Regions from separate parts of the Homo sapiens genome. Here region 1 is linked to region 2. The links are contacts of gene promoters, found by promoter capture Hi-C in human tissues and cell types (Jung and others, 2019). All regions are on one chromosome and are shown on one strand. The core of a region is centred on a gene start or on the middle of the fragment in contact, and the rest is flanking DNA. Distances in the headings are between cores, read along the strand shown. Region 1 overlaps ARHGEF1 (Rho guanine nucleotide exchange factor 1). Region 2 holds the start of GRIK5 (glutamate ionotropic receptor kainate type subunit 5).

Region 1 (7,184 bases), core at 1,757-4,256, 170 kb after region 2:
AGAGACAAGACAGGGAGAGCAGAGAGAGAAGGGGAGGTGGGGAGAGGCAGGCGGGCACAGAGACAGAGAAACAGATTATCAGAAACAGAGACACAGAGATGAGAAACACGAGGTGGAGTGGGGAGATTCAGAAAAGACAAAGAGGGAGATGGACAGAAGGGGCTGTAGGGATGCGAGCTCTGGAGGGGGACCCTCCTTTCAGGACAGCGCCCTGGCCCCCAGGTGCCCCACTCACCTTCCTGGGCGGGAACCTCAAGTGCAGCCAGGCTGGGGGACAGAGTTCCCCCCAAGCTGAGACAGGAGGGGTCTCAGGCGGCAAAATTCCTCCTCCAACTCCTGGTGGGGTGGGGGTCATGGATGAGGGGGGCCCCTTCCTTCCCCAGCCCACTCAGGGCACCCCTGGCCCGTCCCGCCCCACCTCCAGCTGCTTCATGGTCTCCTCCAAGCTGAGCAGGTTCTCCTGGATTTCCTGGGTCCGTGCTGGGCTCAGGGGGCCGCCCCCTGGGACCCCATCCCCATCTCGAGGAGGCCCCGCCCCATTGTCTTCCTCCGCCGGAAACAGAAGCTGCTTCAGGGACAGCACTGGCCAGGGGCAAGGAGGGGTGGAGTCAGGAGACCAGGGGGCTGGGCTGGGATCTGGGATGGGGGATTCCAAAGGGGATGTGTAGGGGCTGGAGGTGAAGGTGGGTGCCAGGCAAGGCTGAGCAGATGGGGTTCGGGGATCCAAAGGGAGGTGAAGAAGTGAGGCTGGGTTTAGGGTTGGGACAGGGCAGGAAGGTACTGAAGACAGAGATGTGTTCAGGAAGAGGCTAAATATAGAATCAAGCAAGGGATGGTGGCTGCAGAAGAGGGACGTGGGCACCCAGGACAGTGGTGCAGGCTGGGTGGGTTTGGAGCATTTGTTTTCTGGCAGCTGGGCGTAAGGAAATTTTTGACGTGGAGAGCCTTGTTCTAGTTGGAACAGAGGCACTGTTTGGGCTGGTGGCCACCCTGGAGGGGCAGAGCTGGGCTACCTTTCCGAAGGGCCGTGGCAGCGAGCTGGCCCTCGGGGCCTGGTCTGCAGAAGGGCAGGAGGTCACTGAGGATTCTCTCGGTCCGGGCTGGATTGGGGAACAGAGAGGGAGCTCAGATCCTGCCGGGCCTCCTGTGGATGCCTCTCTTCACCCGGCAGCCCCAACCTGGCCCCTCACCCAGCATCCCTCTGGTCTCACCATCAGCTGGAGACGTCTCTCGGCCACCATTGCCGTTCTCAGAGCTGCTGAGGAGGGGTTCTCGGGTGCTGAGGGGAGGAAGTGCTGGGTGACCCCACACCCCTGGCCCTGGGGGGCCGCAGGGGCAGGGAGACAGAGAGCTGGAGGTGGGGAGGCAGGGAGGTCCGGAGACAGAGACAGAGGTCGAGGCCGGGAGACAGGGAGACAGAGAGGCCCAGACAATGGAAGACACAGAGGCCTGGAGACAGGAGACAGACGGGGCAGTGGTGGGGTCGGCACATGCGCACACACACACACATGCATGCACATGCTGTCACACGCATGCACACATATGCATACACACACACCATACACGCACACACATGCACACGCACACATGCATGCATACACACACTATATATGCACGCACAGTCACATACTTGCGTACAGACACACATGTATGCACACACATGCATTCACACATGTGCATGCTCACACAGAGACGGTTCTGGAGTTGTGGAGGGAAGCCTGCCCCGCCTTCCGGCCCCACTCCCTGAACCTCCAGCTCTCTCCATGGCCCCCCTCACCTGCTCGGGCTGGGCCGGGGCTTAGGGCGAGAGGCAGGGGCAGGGACTTTCAGGGATCCGGCAGTCTCAGTGATGAGAGCACACCAGCTGGGGAGAAAGGCCAAATCCCTGGGCAGTCAGAGCCCCCAGACCCTATGCCAGGGCCTCCCCACAGCCCTCCTGTCCCTGGGAACCCAGAAACCTGGGCGTCCTCCACCCACACTCAGAACTCAGACCCCCCCTCACTTTTTCCGCTCCGACACAGTCTGTGCCACCAGCTCGTATATCTGGGCCTCCTGGTCCCAGGTAAAAAGGACGTAGAAGGCTTTGTGATCTGCAGGGAGAGGGGGAGATGGGGCTCAGAGCCCAGGTCCCCCCAGTGCCTGCCCCTCCCTAAGCACAAGCTGGAGAAGTCACCCACAGTGGTGGCGCTCTCAGGGCTCCCATGGCTCAACTCACCACTCACTGTCTGCTAATATCCAGGGCCCGATGTGTCCTCCTGAGCCCCACCTCTCACACCTCCTTATGGAATCGGGCATGTACCCTGGCTTACCTAACGAAACCCCTCCAGCCACTCCCACCCTCCAGCCGCTTCCAGTGTTTGTGGCCCTGGTGCAACTTCCTAGTAGTATGTTTACAAATCCCTCCTCACTGGACTCCTGGCCTTTCTTCTCCTTGTTTACACAAGACACGCCTCTGTGCAAACACCTGCAGCAGTTCCTACCTCACTTATAAACCCTCTAGGCCTGGCCCCGCCCTGCCCACCTCCACCTACTTCTCAACCTCTTTGCTAGAATGCTGGCTCCCTGGCTCTCTAGAGGGTTCTGCTCCCCACTCCACAGGCAGCTCTGCCCAAAAAAGACACCCTCTGCCCTGGGCCATGCAGTGGCTGCACTCACCGGTGGCCACCTCGCGGGTCATGGCGGAGGTGAGCCGCAGCACGGGCCGCAGCATGGTCTTGCCATCGGGCGTGGGCGTCAGTGTCCGGCTATGGGACTTGAGCAGCAGCCGCTCGTCCTGGCGCTGGAGCAGCAGCAGCAGGTCGTCCAGCAGCAGCACATGCACCTCTACGGGGCGAGCAGTGCTCACACGGCGTGCCCCCGCGCGACCCCCTCCCCGCCCTTGGCTCACTGCCCCAACACCCTGCACTAGGCAGCTGCTCTGGCACTCACCCACTGCCTTGTCCTTAGTCACCCGCCACGTCAGTGGGCCCTCGTGGACCAATTTCTTCTTGGTGATGTCCAGGTTCTGGGGCAGGAGGGGGTGATGGTTTGTGCAGGTTGGCAGGGGGTGATTGGGGTTGGTGGGGAGGGGAAGGGCAGGGCAGTGGCCGGGGATGACCACAGGCTGGGGATCATGGGATTGGCATGAGGTGGGGGACAGAGCTCTCGCTTCCTGGGTGTATTATGGGATGGGCAGGACAGGCTGGGGGCTGTATCACAGAATCCCCTGGGCCAAGGAGTAGGGGGGCGGGGGAGGCAGGAGGGTATGGTCACACCTTGAACTCGCTCAGCATAGGGTCGCTGCTCTGCCGAAGGTGGGACAAGTCCAGGCGCCGCTGATAGTCCTTGAGCCTCTGGGGCAGAGACGGGAGCATTATGGGGACAAGCTAAGTGCTGGGGCTGACCTGCAGTGACCCACATTGGTAAGATGAGAGCCAAGACCAACTTCTGATGCGGGCAAGCTGAGGGTTGGGCCTGACCTCCAATGACCCTGAGAGGGAGATGCTGAGGGCCAAGCCAACCCCTGGACACAGTGACCCTTGAGGGAGACAAGCCAAGGGGTGGGGTGTGACTTCTGGACAGGCTGAGGTAGGGTCCACCCCCTGCTCTCACACCATCCACTGTCCCGGGTGTGGGGCCAGCCCAGGCTCACCAGCAGGTCCTCCATGTCACGCACGGCTTGGTTGACGTGGTGTAGAATTTCCCGGCAGCACTCGGCTGCCAGCTCCACTTTCTCCCGTTCTGTGGGCTCTTCTGCAGGCAAGGGAGAGAGCAGCTCTGGTGAACCCCTGCCCTGGAGGCTCCAGATTGGGCAGCCAAGGTTAGACAAAGGACAGCTGGCCGGGCATGGTGGCTCACGCCTGTAATCCAAGCACTTTGGGAGGCTGAGGCGGGAGGATAGCTTGAGACCAGGAGTTCAAAGCCAGCCTGGGCAACATGGCGAGACCCCGTCTCTAAAAAAAAAAACTAAAAAAATTAGCTGGGCATGGTGGTGTGCCCTTGGGGTCCCAGCTACTTGGGGAGCTGAGGTGGGAGGATGGTAGATCCTGGGAGGTTGAGGCTGCAGTGAGCTGTGATGGTATCACTGATGAAAATGAGTGAGAAAAAAAATGTAAAAAAAAAAGAGGAGAGCCGAGGCCCAGAGATCCAGGCCCGCGGTACCTGTGTTCTGCCCGATGCTCTGCAGGAGCAGGGGGTACTTGGTCAGCCGCTGCATCTCCGTGGGGATCATGTCCTTCAGCTGCAGGCGGCGGCACCGCGGGCGGCTCTCAGCTTCCTGCGGGAAACATGCTGGTGTTGCGATGGCCCAGGCTTTGGGCTCACCCCAGGGCGCAGGCACCTAGGAGTCTGGGTCTCCAGGCCCCTCCTCCCTGGGAAGCTGGAGTCCAGACCCCACCTCACCTGCACGAAGGCACAGAACCGAGGGTCCTTGCGTTGCTTGGCTTTGAGCTGCTCTAAGGCAAATGACTGGCGGCTGCAGAAGCGGGAGGAGATTTTCTGGAACCAGGAGCCCTCAGCACCATCAAACTACAGCGAGATTCAGGCCAGGCAGGTGTCTCAGTGGGGATGGGCAAGAACAGGGACTAAAGTACGACAGGCTGGAAGCCCAGACCCTGGGACTGGAGTAGGGTGGGCTCAGGACCCGTCCCGGGCCTGAATTCCATGTGTCTAGCTGGGAGGAGCGGGAGGGCTGGGCATCTCACCCGGGCCAGCAGCACGTCTCCGATCTCCTCGATGAGGTAGCCACTCTCCTGCCTCCGCTTCATCAGGCGATCGAGGAACAGGGCTGTGGGGGCAGGAGGAAAGGGATGCTCCACCAGGGTCTGGAAGATGCTGTGCGGGGCCTGCTGCGGTGTGGTGGGGGTAGGGCTGCAGGTGTGTCTGTGTCTGATCCTCGGGACCGGATGGCGTATCTGCCCCCACCCCATGTGAACCCTGGGGTTCCCGAGCAGGTTGAACCCAGGGCTAGAGCAGAGCTGCCCGTGGGGCAGTGGGGTACACAGAGGGACCCTGGCTCTGCACTCACAATGCACCTCGATGAGCTCGTCCAGGCTGGGGAAGATGTTCTGCAGCTCCTCCAAGGGGAAGAACAGGCATTCTGCCATGGGCTGGAAGAAGAGGTCGTGCAGCACCCGCAGCATGCGCACGTGGGCCGCCTCTGTCACCAGCAGCTCTGCAGGGCCACCAAAGCAGGAAGCATGTTGGGGAGGGTGCAGACTAGGGGGCATGACCTCATGGGCAGGCTAGAGGAATGAGGCAGAGCAGGGAGGAAAGCTTCCTAGAAGTTGGTGGGAAAAAACTCTCTCTGGCTAGCCATGGTGGTTCACACTTGTAATCCCAGCACTTTGGGAGGCCAAGGCAAGAGGATTGCTTGAACCCAGGAGTCCAAGATCAGCCTGGGCAACATGGTGAAACCCTGTTTCTACCAAAAATTTAAAAAAGAAAAAAAATTAGCCCAGGCATGTTGGTGTGTGCCTGTAGTCCCAGCTACTTGGGAGGCTCAAGTGGGAGGATCCCTTGAGCCCAGGAGGTTGAGGCTGCAGTGAGCTATGATGGCATTACTGCACCCCAGCTCAAGCAACAGAGCGAGACCTTGTCTCAAAACAAAATGGCTGGGCACAGTGGCTCATGCCTATAATCCCAGCATTTTGGGAGGCTGAGGCAGGTGGATCACAAGGTCAGGAGTTCAAGACCAGCCTGGCCAACATGGTGAAACCCCATCTCTACTAAAAAAATACAAAAATTAGCCAGGTGTGGGGGCGGACTCTTGTAGTCCCAGCTACTCGGGAGGCTGAGGCAGGAGAATCTCTTGAACCCGGGAGACAGAGGTTGCAGTGAGCTGAGATCACACCACTGCACTCCAGCCTGGTGACAGAACGAGACTCCGTCTCAAAAAAACAAAACAAAACAAACAAATAAAAAAAAAAACTCTCCGGGTGGAGTCATTTGCCCTCTTAAATAGCCACTGAGGGGCCGGGTGCAGTGGCTCATGCCTGTAATCCCAGCAATTTGGGAGGCTTAGGCGGGCAGATCACGAGGTCAAGAGATCAAGACCATCCTGGCCAACATGGTGAAACCCCATCTCTACTAAAAATACAAAAATTAGCCAGGAGTGGTGGTGGGCACCTGTAGTTCCAGCTACTTGGGAGGCTGAGGCAGGACAATCGCTTGAACCTGGGAGGTGGAGGTTGCAGTGAGCGGAGATCACGCCACTGCACTCTAGCCTAGGCGACAGAGCGAGATCGTCTCAAAAAAAAAAAAAAAAAAAAAAAACCAGTGAGGATTCCTCAACCCACTGCCTTTCCCTTTTCGCTGTGGCAGCTGGCCAGAGTGACCAATGGTCCTCATTTGCCTGCCTGGGCTTTCAGTGATAAAACTGTGAATATCCTGAGCAAATGGGGACAAGCTAGTCATCCCACCTGCCAGCAAGCTTGCAGCTGTGTTTAGTGTCTAACCATCAAGCCACATTATACAGTGGTTGACAGCCTCAGATCCAGGGACCCCCACATCCCCGGAGGGCATATGTGTGAGTTTCAGGGGCCCTAGAAGTCCCCTGAGACTAAAAGCACGATTTTGTACATTATGCATATTCTTTCTGGGGAAAGAAATTGCTATCCTGTCCAACGTGATAGTCACCAGCCGTGTACAACTCTTTACATTTTCGTTAATTGCAATGAAATTTTAAGTCAGTGCTCAGTTGTATTTAGTGCTTTTTTTTTGAGACACAGTCTTGCTCTGTCACCTAGATTGAAGTGTGGTGGAGTGATCTGGGTTCATTGCAACCTCCATCTCCTGCTTCCTGGGTTCAAGCAATTCTCCTGGCTTACTCTCTCGAGTATCTGGGATTACAGGCATGCGCCACTATGCTTGGCTAATTTTTGTATGTTTAGTAGAGATGGGGTTTCACCATGTTGGCCAGGCTAGTCTCGAACTCCTGACCTCAAGTGATCTGCCCACCTCGGCTTCCCAAAGTGCTGGGATCACAGGCATGAGCCACTGTGCCTGGCCTAGTGCATTTCAAGTGCTCACCAGCCATAGGTGGCCGATGGTCCCCATGGTGAGCAGTACAAATAAAGCACATTTCCATCTTCCAGAAAGTCCTAATGGGTAGCACATGGCTCATGTTTTTTTTTTTTTTTATCATGTCCTTAGAAGGATCTGTGACCCAAAAAGTACTCAACTACTCCCCTAAAATTTTTGAATAA
Region 2 (7,506 bases), core at 1,480-3,979:
TGTGTGACCTTGGGCAGATTCTTGCTTCTGCTGAAACCTCCTTTTCCCCACTTGAAAATCTGAGGATCAGGCTGGGTGCGGTGGGTCACACCTGTAATCACAACACTTTGGGAGACCGAGACAGGCCGATCACCCGATGTCAGGAGTTCAAGACCAGCCTGACCAACATGGAGAAACTCCGTCTCTACTAAAAATACAAAATTAGTCAGGCATGGTGGTGCATGCCTGTAATCCCAGCTACGCGGGAGGCTGAGGCAGGAGAATCACTTGAACCCCGGAGGCGGAGGTTGCAGTGAGCCAAGATGGCGCCATTGCACTCCAACCTAGGCAACAAGAGCGAAACTCCATCTAAAGAAAAAAAAAAAAGAAAGAAAGAAAAAATAAAAGAAAAGAAAACCTGGCCGGGTGCAGTGGCTTGCGCCTGTAATCCCAGCACTTTGGGAGGCCGAGGCAGGCAGATCACGAAGTCAGGAGATCGAGACCATCCTGGCTAACATGGTGAAACCCCGTCTCTACTAAAAATACAAAAAAAGTTAGCCGGGTGTGGTGGTGGGCGCCTGTAGTACCAGCTACTCAGGAGGCTGAGGCAGGAGAATGGTGTGAACCCAGGAGGCAGAGCTTGCAGTGAGCCGAGATCATGCCACTGCACTCCAGTCTGGACAACAGAGCGAGACTCCATCTCAAAAAAAAAAAAAAAAGAAAAGGAAAAAAAAAGAAAATTTGAGGATCCAGGTAACTTCTCAGGCCTTTTGCTTGGACTTCTCAACTTGATTTGGGTGGTGCAGGTCTCTTTTCTCCAGATCATATAGGAATAAGCTGAGGATAAGCTGAGGTCTTTCTGGAGGTGGTAGTGCAGGACTGGCTGGGATTTCCGGGACAGGTTGAATTTAGAGGGGATGGTGGTTGGTTTTTGTTTTTTGTTTTTTTTTTGGAGATGGAGTCTCGCTTTGTCTCCCATGCTGGAGTGCAGTGGCATGATCATGGCTCACAGCAACCTCTGCCTCCTAGGTTCAAGCAATTCTTGTGCCTCAGCCTCCCAAGTAGCTGGGACTAAAGGAGTGTGCCACCGGGCCTGGCTAATTTTTGTATTTTTAGTAGTGACGGGGTTTTGCCATGTTGGCCAGGCTGGTCTTGAACTCCCAACCTCAGGTGGTCCACCTGCCCCGGCCTTCCAAAGTGCTGGGGTTACAGGAATGAGCCACCGCCCTGGTCGAAAGGATGGTGTTCTGTGTTGAGGTCCTTCATAAGCAAAGTCCCAGAGGCAGGTGTGAATCTGGGCTTTTAGGCCTGACTGGAGTTAAGTGTGGATGTTTGAGGGGGCGGTGTAGATGTTGACCAAGTGGGGTAAGGAGGTGTGTGCAAAGTTGGTGGTCCTTCAGCGTCAGATATATGTGTCAGATGTGTGTCCAGGATGCCCCACATGCCAGCTTGCAGAGGGCTTCCTGTGCTGGGCTGGCATGTGGTCCAGGAGTTGCCATGTGCCAGCTGTGTGTTCGAGGCATGCGGTCACATATGCTGTGGGCCGCACGTGAGTGTGTCAGTGTCTCCTCCCCATCACGAGCATCGGGGGTGGTGGTGAGTCACGGGCTCAGCCTTCGGCGCCAACTGTCATGTTTCTTCCCCCCAAATTTCACCCCCCACCCAGCCATGCACCACCCACCCCCACTCCAAGATCTGTGTCGCTTCTCTCTTCCATCCCCCTGTCCTGCTCAGCTCCTTCTGAGAGGCTGCAGGGTGTTCCCTGGGAAGGAGTCTCCCACTTCTGGCTCTGCCCTCCAGCTTCCTCTCCTTGTCCCATCCACCTTTCCCACTGCCTCTCTGCTCCTGTGACTAGAGAATGAGGGCCCCTTCTCTCCACCCACTCATCTCTGTGGGTCCCAAGGATTTCTCTGTGCACTATAGGGAATTCTCATACTCACCACCCATCCCCTCACCTCTATAGGAGCTATTTATATTGGGGGAGGCTTGCCCCGCATCTCCAGGCTGGCAGCTCCTGCCTCAGTGGCTCTCTTGTGTCTATGAGCCACATCCTTGTCTTTTTGGTACCCTGGTGTCTGTAGGCCTCCCTTGTTTCTGTGACCTTCTTCGGCTCTCCTTGGCTCTCTCCCTGCCCTGTGGACCGCTCCCCATATCTGAGGAGTGCTTTCTGTTTCCAGGGGCCTCTCTCTTGTGTCTCTGGCTTCTCCCGTTTTCCTTCGCGGGAGGTCTCTATGTCCACATTACTGCCCCTTGTCTCCGAGGTCCTTTTGCTTGTCTCTGTAGGCTGCTCCCTTGTCTCCATGGGCCTTTCTTTCTTATCCCTGGGCTTTTCCTGTCCTTGTCCTTGTGGGGTTTGTGGGCCTCAGCCCACTTCTCTGGACAGTCTTGACGGCTGTCTCTCTTCTCTTCATTTCTCTTCATCTCTGTAGCCCTCTCCCCTCATCTCAGTGGCCTTCTCCCTGGGTCTTCTTGCCTCTCATCTCTGTGGGCTCCTGTGCCCAGGGCTGCCTGGGCAGGGCGGTGGCATGGTGTGGTAGAGGGGGTGGCTCGGGGGTGGGCCTTCCATCCAATGCAGCTCCTTCTTCTCATCAGCATTCTCCTCGCGGGGGGCCCCCAGCCCCAACCAATACAGGCTCCCCCTCCCCCGACTCACCTCCCTACTCTCTCTTTGCCTGCCTCCCTCCCTTCCTCCTGCCCGCCCTCCTCCCTGCCTCCCTCCCTCCCTCTTCTCTCTCTCCTGAACCACCCCACTGCGCTCCAGGACCCAGCGCAGGCGGCAGGCGGGCAGGCAGGCGGCGGCCTCGGAGGGGAGACTGAGCGGTGGCGGCAGCCAGCGGCAGGGAGGCAGGCCCAGCCGGGGACTGGAGCCGGGGACTGGAGCCGGCTCCTCACAGGGGACCAGGAGTGTGTCGCCAGGCCCTCCCACTGAGGCCCAGCACCGGGAGCCCCTGGGACACCCCACCCTCCTCCGCCTTTCTCTTCCACCTGCTCCTCTCCATCCTCCTCTCCCTCCTCCCTATCTCTCCACCTCATTTGCCCCCTTCTTGGCCTCTCCGGGTCTCCCAGCTCTCCATCCTCCCCAGCTCTCCACTCCCGGGCTCTCCCCGCCCCCAGCATGCTTTTCCCGTGGGGGCTGAGGGCTTGAGGACTCCGGGCCCTTGCCTCAACCAGGGCAGGGCCCAGGCTCCAGGGGGGAGGGGGAAAGGGGGCGGCCCCCTCCCCCAGCAGGCCCTCCCCTCCCCCACTTCTCCTGATGGCCGGCTTCCTTTTCTCCACCCAGTCCTCGCCCCCTGTGGCCCCCCCAGGCCGGCCCGGCTAGGGGAGGGGGCGGGGGCCCTTTCCTGGGCCAGCTTCCCCCTCCCCCGGCTTTGCCTGTGCCCCCCCCTTCCGTTTTCACCTTCCTCTCCTCCTTTCCTCCCTCCTTCCCCTCCATTTGCTCCTTCCCCCTCTCCTCTCTCCCCTTCTCTCCTCCATTTTCTCCTTTCCCCTTCCTCCCCTCCCCGGCCCGCCCTCTCCTCTTCCACCTGTCCTTCCTCCCTGCTCCTGTGGAGCCACCGTTTTGGATTAGTTGGGAGCCACCACCGGCGGCGGGGGAGGGGGCCCTGTGGACTGCCCTCTCCCCCCGCCCAGCCCCACCACCACCCAGCGCCAGAGCACCTCCCGCTGTCGGTCTTCGGGCCTCGAGGGAGCCCAGCCCTCCGTCCCACCAGGATCCGTGAGTGTCTGCAGGGCAGGGATTGGGCTGGGTTCTGGGTCCTGGAAGGCTGGGCTCTGGTGCCGCCTGGCAGGGGGGCACCACATTCTCCCCGTTCTCCGGACTGGCAAGTACCCTCCCCCACTAGGGGCCTGCTCTGCGCCCTCCATCTCCTCAGCGTCCATTCACCTCGACCTCTTCTCACCTCTTCTTCTGGGTACATAGCTCACTGCCGCCCCTGGCCCTCTAGCTTTCTGGGGTCCTACGGGGCTGATTGCTCTTACTTGGGCTCTCACTTACCCCGGGCCCCTGGCATGTCCGTGCCCCTGCTGTCTCCAAGCCTCCGTCCTGGTCCCAGACTGGCTCTTTCTGTTCCTCTGAGCCTCATCCTCTGCCTGCGGTGGGCCTTGGCCCTGTCCCCACCCCGTCCAGTCTCTATCTCCTGGATATGTCTTTCCGCTTTTGAGCCCCCATTTCCTGTGTCTCTTGGGCCCCTCTCTGACTCTGCCCAACTTCTCTCTTTGCTGTTAGCCCAGGTTGCTCTCGGCATGTCTCTGTTTAGATCCCTCTCTCTGTCAGAACTCCTCCACCCTGGCTTCCCTCTTTCCAAGTCTCCCTCGGCAGGTCTCTTTCCATTTCTCTTTCTATTCTGTGCCTCCGCTCACCTGTCCTCCTCCCTCTCTCTGCCTCTGAGCTTGGAGGCTGTCTTCCCTCTGTCACTTTTCCACCTCTTTCCCCCAGATCCACTCTGGGTGCCCGGCTCCTCAGTCCCTCCCTCCTCAGCTGCTGCCCCACCTCTCCGTGGTCCATGCTGACTTTTCCTGGCTGGTCTGGCTCTTTCCACTCCCATTCTCTCTCCCGACTTCTGTGTTACCTCGCGTGGCCTTTCTGCTCCCATTCCTCTCCATGTCTGGGGGCTTTCAGGCCCCAGGATCTCCTGCTCCCCCACACGGCATTCCTGAGTGTCTTGGGGTGGCTATGCCTCTGTGTGGGTCTGGCCTCTCCTGCAGGTGCTTGCCCTGTCCCTGCCTGTGCCCCTCTAGTGCACTCACTCCATCTCCCCACCTCAGTTTCCCTCCCTGACTCCCCCTTTCTCTCTCCCAGGTGCTTTTCCCCCTTGCCCCTTCCTCTTCTATGGGCCTGTCGTGCAGCTCCGACATACTGTCTCTCTTTCCGACTGGCCCTCTCTCTTTGTAGAGTTTGGCCATTTCTTTCCTTCTCCCAAGTCTTGTACCTGCTGCTGTTTCTTTATCTCCCTTTGCCTTCTCCCTCACCCTGTGTGCCTTCGCTGGCCCTCCTTGCCTCTCACCTTTGCTGATGTCTCTCCTATGCCCACTGTTGCTCAGCTCTCTGCTGGGTTTTGACTTTTATCTGGCTTTGCCCAGTCTCTGGGGCTGAGTCCTGGACCTGCCTGACACCCTACCTGCCCTGTCTCTGTCTCCTTTGCTGTCTCACTTCTAGGCTGTGTCTGTCTCTTGCTCTCTCACTTAGCCTCAGTTCCTACGTCTTGGGCTGTCTTTCTGTGTGTATCTCTGTGTCCACCTGCTGCCCCTCAACCCTGTCTTTCTCTGTCTGCTCCCACCTTTGGCTGCCACCTGTGGGTCCCTGTCCTTCTGTCCCATCTCTCCCTCGGTCTTTCTGTCCTTTGTCCTCTGCTCCCTGATTTGCCCCAGGAGTCCCTGGTGTCTCAGGATGACCCACTCCACTCCTGCCTCTCTCCTAGCTCCGCCCTTCACACTCCTCCCACTCTGAGCGCTCCTCCGGGTCTCCCAGCATCCCTTGTGCCTCCATCCTTGACAAGCCTTCACCTTAATCCACATTATAGTTTGCAGTCCCCAGCCTGTCCAGCATACCCTCCCACCTAGCACTCTCTTCTTCTCAGAGGCCTAGAAGGCAGTGACTTGCTCAAGATCACGCAGTGAGTCAGGGGCAGAGCTGGGACTGATCCCCAGCCTAGGTTTTGCAGGCCACTTGAGATGGTGAGAAGGACTTGTGCCTCTATCCTTCCCTCGAAGTTCTCATTCCACAGTTTCACCAGCTCAAGCTGTCCTTCCATGGGGACTGAGTGGGGTCCGGTGTCCAGGCCCACTTCACAGCATTCTGTGCCCCCCACAGTAACCCTACTCCATGGAAACCCAAGCATCCCTTCCCGTGGGGCACAGCCCTCAGCCAGGGGAAGTGGAGCTGTGCATCTGGCCAAACTCCTTGCCCAGTGGTTGCCCTGCAGAAAGCTGGGGTGCCTAGAGGAATCCCTGACTCCTTAGGGGTGGAGAGTTGTGAAGAGCAAAGATGCACCATCTCCCCCTTTACTTCTTCTCCCCAGTAGGGTGGGGGGCAGTGGTATGGCACCCACTTCTGGCAGGCAGCTCCACTCCCTGCCTTACTCACTCCTCCCTTCCAGCTCTTCCTGCTTGTATCCGAGTCGGTTCCTATCTTTTCTCCATCCTCTGTCTCCCTCTTCCTGTGTCTCGCCTGTGCCTTGGTTTCCCCACCTCCAGCCTGCCCCTCTTTCCTCCGCTCCCTGCTCTGTCCTTTCTTTATCTTGCCTCCTCATCCTCCTGTCTCTTCCCTCTTTCTCCCTCCTAGTCCTCTCCCTGCCTCCCTGTAACTCTCCTCTTTTCTCTCCATTTCTACCCCCATTTTCCTATTGTCTTGTCTTTCTCTTCCCTTGTATTTCTATCTATTTTGACCTTTCTCTCTTTCTGAGTCTCTCTGTCTTTCCCTTCTCTAAGCCTCTCTTTCACTTTCTCTGTTTCCTCCCTTCTCTCTCTTTGCTTTTTTTTTTTTTCCCCCTTTTACTGCTCTGGGTCCATTCATCTATGGGGTTCTGTGTGTGCCTCTCTCTCTTTTTCTCCATCTCTCCATCTCTCCCGAAGTTTCCTAACTCCCAGATACTCTCTCCTCCAGACCTCGGATGTCCAGGCCTCTCTCCCCATGGGATTGTGGGAACTGGGGATGTTAGGAAAGTGGCAAGTGAGGCCTGGGATGGGGTTGCCTAGCAACCACCGCATCCTCTCCAGCCGGTTTCTGTTGCCTAGTAACGGCTGCCTGCCCAGAGACAGGGGCGGGACTGGGTGGGGGGTGGCACTTCCTGGTTTCCTATTTGGGTGGGGCTGGTCCCAGGAATTCACTCCTACCTGAGAACCTCGCACGCCTCCCTCCTGTTTTGGTAGCTGTGCCCATCCTCTCTCTTGCAGCCTGTCCTACTCAGCGCCTGAGCACTGTGACCTCCACCCTGGTAGTGCCCCTCTGAGCTGAGCTTCCCTTCTTGCAATGCCCTCAGTATTGCCAGCTTCTAAACAGAGCAGGGCTCTGCAGAGCTGTGAACTGCTTGCCAACAATGTCCCCAAGGCTTCTGTGACCACCCCATCCAGCAGGCCTCCAAGGGGTTCCATCCCACCACATAGTAATCTCCCCTTGGTCTGGGGGGTCTCCCTGCAGGTGGCGAGTGGGGGCCGCGGCAGCTGCGTCCCCATGAGGAGGGGAGGAAGATGCCGGCTGAGCTGCTGCTGCTGCTGATTGTTGCCTTCGCCAGCCCCAGCTGCCAGGTGCTCTCATCACTGCGCATGGGTGAGGCCCTCCCGCACCCTGCCCCTGCATCCTCAGGCCCTGGGGCTCCTCTGGGGACCCAGGCATGCCAGTCCGTCAGGGTCCAGGTCTCAGCTCTCTTCAGCAGCAAGGAATCCCAGCCTCCAGTTCCTCCTTCCCCCAGGACCCAGGAGTCCAGACCCCTAGCTCCCACCAACCTCAGATCCAGGTGTCTAGACCCCTGGTCCGTATACCCACCTCACCCTAGAGCCCTGGAGTCTAAGACCACAGCCCCCTCCTTCCTC

Evidence for each region. Contacts are between HindIII fragments. The study calls those that stand out against the background at their distance.
Region 1: a fragment that was not itself captured here is called in contact with the fragment with the promoter of GRIK5 in region 2 in 1 of the 25 tissues and cell types used here (pancreas).

What each region holds. Positions count from the first base shown.
Region 1 is chr19:41,899,855-41,907,038 of GRCh38, reverse strand. ARHGEF1 (Rho guanine nucleotide exchange factor 1) reads right to left here. Exons shown (of 29, transcript NM_004706.4): 15 at 5,006-5,152; 16 at 4,683-4,765; 17 at 4,381-4,506; 18 at 4,141-4,255; 19 at 3,632-3,732; 20 at 3,255-3,332; 21 at 2,929-3,004; 22 at 2,656-2,823; 23 at 2,003-2,090; 24 at 1,778-1,864; 25 at 1,212-1,279; 26 at 1,014-1,100; 27 at 419-582; 28 at 236-336. The coding sequence ends at 253. Among named protein-coding and RNA genes, the nearest start is that of ARHGEF1, 20 kb to the right of the region's middle. RefSeq lists enhancers at 856-1,460, 2,066-2,670, 2,671-3,276. The HindIII fragment of the contact is 9,702 bases long and covers 1-7,184 here.
Region 2 is chr19:42,065,429-42,072,934 of GRCh38, reverse strand. GRIK5 (glutamate ionotropic receptor kainate type subunit 5) reads left to right here and starts at 2,729. Exons shown (of 20, transcript NM_002088.5): 1 at 2,729-3,694; 2 at 7,115-7,243. The coding sequence starts at 7,165. It also overlaps a transcript of ZNF574 not described here. The HindIII fragment of the contact is 36,913 bases long and covers 1-7,506 here.